2 separate regions of the Homo sapiens genome follow, and region 2 is linked to region 1. The links are contacts of gene promoters, found by promoter capture Hi-C in human tissues and cell types (Jung and others, 2019). All regions are on one chromosome and are shown on one strand. Each heading gives the region's core, a stretch centred on a gene start or on the middle of the fragment in contact. The rest is flanking DNA. Distances are from core to core; before and after follow the strand shown.

Region 1 (2,700 bases), core at 82-2,581:
AACTACACTCTTCCCTTGCAGCTGCTCTGTCTACCAAAAGTGAAACCTGAAAACTCCCTCCCACACCAACTCCTACCAACCTTCTACAGTGAAACCAGGACACCCCCACAGTGGCCCAAGTTCTCTATAACTTCTATAGGAACCTAGATGTTGAAGAGTCTGTTCTCTAACTCGTAGTGTCTCTTACAGCCCACACATCTTGAAGATAAATACAGACATACATCACAGACGCACCACTGTAACTGTAGGCATATTATATTTTTGAAGTGCCTAATCATCGAAAGTGACAGAAAGCAATAAACTGTCCTAATCTATGCCACTGGCAATGTGGACCTAAATGAGTTAGCGTTCTTATCTTAAAAAAAAAAATTAAGAGAGAAGAGGCTGGGTGCAGTGGCTCATGCCTGTAATCCCAATGCTTTGGGAGTCTGAGGTGGGAGAATTGCTTGAAGACAGGAGCTCAAGACCAGCATGGACAATATAGCAAGACTCTATCTCTACCAAAAATTTTAAAAATTAGCCAAGCATAGTGGCGCATATCTGTAGTCCTAGACACTCAGGAGGCTGAGTGGGAGGACTGCTTGAGACCTGGAGTTACAGGCTGCAGTGAGCTACGATTGCACCACTGCACTCCAGCCTGGGCAACAGAGCAAGACCCTGTCTCAAAAAAGGGGGTTGGGGAAGAGAATAAGATAAAGAGAACCTAACTGACTTTGATTGCTGCTAGTATGTATTTGATTTATCCTGCCTTGTTCAAAAAACAGGAGGAAATAAGGAAATGGACAGTAAGACAAATTATAGAGATCTGTATATTGTAGTAGGATACAAAGTACAACAAGCAAGACACCGGAAAAAAGGATAATAAAGTAAACTAGATATGGGAGTAACCCATATTTAGCAACCCCCTATATTTATTATTGCAATTGATTTGTATTGCCCCAGAAGAAAGACAAAAAATAAACTCAGGAAGAGCTGAGACCAGGTTTCTCACTGTTCTCCCAAAGAGAATTCAAACTTACCGGCCACTAAGAAGATAGTCAAAATCAACAGTAGCCCTAGGTTAGCAGTTCTCCAAGGGCAGAGCATTTCTGTTTTCTCTTTTTCTGCCCTTCACTCAGTACTTTTCCTCCACACAGGTACAGAAGGAACTGTGCGCATGGTGAGACCCTCTCTGGTCAACTTCTCAGTACAGGATCCTCTTACCCCATCAACAGTGGGGCACTCCCTTCCTTCTAGCCCCTTCCTTCACGTCTATGTGGTTTAGCCTGGTTAGTAACTTGGACGAACAGAAGCTTTTCTCTGGAACTTGACACAGCAATAGATTTCCTGTATGAAGCCCTGAAGCAAAGACGGAGGAAGCAGATTGATTGAATTATCTCTCAGCTCATTGGTTCTCCTCTCACTTCTGCTGTACACAGACAAACTTTACAGTAAGGCATTGAACGTGTCCAAGATAAACAGATTTGTCTAAACTTGCACCAAAAAGTAAAACAGAATATTGATCTACTTTGGCCCATCCTTGTAAATTTCCCAATTATGATGACTTTTAGAGGCTTTCTCCAGGTTGAAGAGCTTTACGGCCTTAGTATTTGAGTCTGGAATACAATATGTTTTCTTGAAAATTATTGTGTGAAATTCCTGTCTATAATGGGAGTCAACACACAACCCTGTAAACATCATATGTGTATTAGTTTCCTATTGCTACTGTAAGAAATTACCACAAACTCAGTGGCTTAACACAACACAACATTTATTATCTTACAGTTCTGGTGATCAGAAGTCTGAAATGGATCTTAGGGGACTAAAATCAAGGTGTTGGAAGGGCTGCACTCCATCTGGAGGCTCGGGCAGAATTTGCTCCCTGCCTTTTCCAGCGATTTGAGAATGCCTGCATTTCTTGGCTTGCAGCTACATCATTCGGACCTCTGGTCCACTGTCACATCTTCTCTGACTGTGACCCTTATGCCTCCCTTTTATAAAGACCTTGTGATTATTTTTGGTCCACCCAAATAATCCAACATGATCTAATTTCAAGATCTTAATTTAATCACATCTGCAAAGTCCTTTTTGCCACACAAGGTAACATTCACAGGTTTCGGTAATTCGGACATAGGTATCTACCTTGTTGGGGGTGAGGGCATTCTGTTTATCAGAACTCAGTACTTATTGCCATTCAGTTTCACCTTTGGAAAATTAGACTGATCATTTTAACCAAATTACAAATAATCACCCATCTCTTAGTTGCCACACATCTGGAATTCAGACTCCCCCTAACCAAAAAAAAAAAACAACAACAACAACAAAAAAACCTCTTCCTTACTGTTGCTAGTTACTATGTTACTATGCTTTTAAGTTATGTCTGAGAGAGGGAAAAATCTTCTATGTGCTGAGAATTTTCTGCCCCAAGGCAAAACTGTACAGGAAGGGGAAGAAAACATTGCAAACAGGAAAAAGATTAAACAGCATGCATTTTTTTTCTCAGTTAGCAGTTTCATCTTCCTTCTTGCCAAACATTATAAATATTTCCCCCCTTCCCCTTCTCAAGCTTTTTTTTCCAGTTAATTAATTTGATGAAGACAGTGAAACCAGATCCTTGAGGGCATGGAACACTTAAGGGTATGAGCTGTGACAATGGGAAGACCAAAACAAAAATGTCTTCTCTTCTGTCTAATGTTTCACCAGGTGTCGGAAAATTAGTGA
Region 2 (2,700 bases), core at 117-2,616, 66 kb before region 1:
GTTTCCTAACCCCCTGTGTCTTCTCTCCTGACATTTTGATTCCTTTAGGCCTATATGTTTTAAATATTATTATTGTCATATTAATAGCCATTCAGGAGAGAATAGACACGATACATCTATTCAATTCACCATGTCAAACTAGAAATCTCCATTTTTATTTAAAATCCTGTGGCATTTTTTTATTTTTTTATTAAGAAATGTTTTTTCAAAGATAATTTTGGCAGAAATATAAGTAATTAAGACATTATCTTTCTTTTTTAAAACATAGTGATTAAAATAAAGTAGCATTTTCACTCTTTGAGCTATTTTAAACTGAGCATTTTAAAGGACTAGTGGAAAAGCTCTAGTGGAAAAATATTCTAATGTATTTTTCTAATTATGGTTTCCTCTCTACTTCGCCCAATACCCCTCAGCATCCCCGCAACTTGGCCAACAGACTCACCAGCTATGAAAAAAAATGTGAACAGTATCCCAAAAGCTGAAGCCATCTTCCAAAGGGAGTTATTTCTATTTTTTTTTTCTTATCTTTGCCTCTATGTTTTCTTCCACTGTATAATAGGCCTAGTTATGGTATTTTACTTCTCTTGCTCTGCTCCATTAGCACTGGTGAGAAATCCCCTGCTCTCTTAGATGGTTGTATTTTTGGCTCATGAGCAACTTAAATAGAAGCATTTCCTGTTTGCACAGTTGAGGTGATAATGACTGAATTTTCTGGTTTGTGCTTTTATACATTTACTTATTTCAAGAGAAGCATGTATATTTGACCCAGGATTCAGATCCAATTGTAATTGATTGAGCTATGTCCCAGATACTGTCAGAATGATTCTTATGAGGCATGTATAGTTATATTTATTTTTATAGATAAGGAAGTAGAGATTCGAAAAGGTTAAGAAACTTATCCTAAGTCAATTAATGATACGGTAGAAGAATAACCAGCATAGAAAGAAAGACCTTTTCATAAGTAATTTTCCTTATCTTCTACTGCATTTTGTATGTGTGTCTATGTATATTTTTTGGTATTTTGTTGTGTGGCTTATGAGAGGAGTTACACACAATCTCTCCTTCCAGGGATATGCACTTTAACATAGAAATCACTGAGGCAGAAAGTATTTAAAAGTAACATGCTCAAAAAGATCATAATACAAATAATTCTTCACCTAAATTATTGTATTAGCCTCTTCTACTTCATAATATTTACTTAATATCTCTTTTCATCTCTGTTCAGTTTGTTTTTTTTGGCTAAAGCAATTTAGGATATGCTCTTTCCTTCTGCAAACTCAGGGTTGCTACATGGGTTGCAAAGGTAAAGATAAAGAGTGCTGACCAGTAGGCTGAAGTTTCTGCCCATAAATTCTCCTTACATCTTCCTGACCACACAATAATCCTGCCCTTGGATTTTCCTGTGCGTTCTCCCCACCCACTTCCAGTGGTTCATACTGGTTTCAGTTTGGCTAGACAAAAAGAATGGTTAGTGATAACTTTGTATGAAAAAGATGGATATAATTGTGCACATTTGTTAACTTTCTATACTACAGAGTTATCACCAGGATCAGATTCTTGTCTCCAGATAGATAATTCCTCAACACATTTGAAGGTGAATTTGGGATTTTTAGTGAAATAACAAAGAAATTCTATCCTCTATTTCTTGCCCACCCTCTATTTTGAGTTGATTTTTGTGTAGGCCATAAGATAGGGCCCAATTTTATTCTTTTGCCTAGGGTTATTCAGTTTCCCCAATATCAATTGTCAAAGAGACTGTTCTGTCCCCATTGTGTATTTTTGGAATCCTAGTTGAAGATCAGTTGACTATATATGCATGAATTTATTTCTGGGATCTCTATTCTGTTATGCTGGTCTATAGATGTCTTTATGCCAGTAGCATACTGTTTTAATTACTGTAGCCTGGTAGTATATTTTGATATAAGGAAGTGTAATGCCTCCAAGTTTATTCTTGGCTGTTTAAGGTCTTTTATGGTTTCATATGAATTTTATAATTGATTTTCTATTTCTGTAAAAATGTCATGGAATTTTGATAAGAATTGAATTGAATCTGTAGATCTTTGTAGTGTCTTAGCCTATTTTGCTGCTATGACAAAATACCACAGACTGAGTAATTTGCAAACAAAAGAAATTTATTTCTCACAGCTCTGAAGGCTGAGAACTTCAAGATCAAGGCACCAGTAGACTCAGTGTCTTATGAGTGCTACTATTTGCTTCAAAGACGATGCCTTCTTGCTAAATCCTCTGCAGAGTAAGTATGTTGTGTCTTCACATGACAGAAGGGACAAAGGGGGTCCCTGTCTGCCTCTTTATTAAGTCAGTAGTTCATTCATGAGGGTGAAGCCTTTATAGCTTAATCACTTCTGAGGGGCCCCCCTCTTAATGCTGTTGCATTGAGCATTAAGTTTCAACAAGAATTTTGGAGGGAACACAAACATGAAAACCATAACAGGTAGTATAAACATTGTAACAATATTAAGCCTTCCAATCCATGAACACAGAATGTCTTTCCATTTGTTTGTGTCTTCATTAATTTCTTTCATCAATGTTTTGTAATTTTCAGTGAACAAGTATTTCACTTGCTTAGTTAAGCTTATTCACAAGTATTTTTTGATGCTAATGTAAATAGGATTGTTTTCCTCATTTCCTTTACAGATAGTTTATTAGTATATAGAAATGCAACTGATTTTTGTATGTTGA

What was found. The method cuts DNA at HindIII sites, captures the fragments that hold promoters and counts their contacts. A contact is called where the count stands out against the background at its distance.
Region 2: a contact is called between a fragment that was not itself captured here and the fragment with the promoter of CD200R1 in region 1, in 2 of the 25 tissues and cell types used here (lymphoblastoid cells and mesenchymal stem cells).

What each region holds. Positions count from the first base shown.
Region 1 is chr3:112,973,772-112,976,471 of GRCh38, forward strand. CD200R1 (CD200 receptor 1) reads right to left here and starts at 1,332. Exons shown (of 8, transcript NM_138806.4): 1 at 1,020-1,332. The coding sequence starts at 1,086. The HindIII fragment of the contact is 6,650 bases long and covers 1-2,700 here.
Region 2 is chr3:112,907,799-112,910,498 of GRCh38, forward strand. No RefSeq gene overlaps it. Among named protein-coding and RNA genes, the nearest start is that of CD200R1L, 62 kb to the left of the region's middle. The HindIII fragment of the contact is 5,502 bases long and covers 1-2,700 here.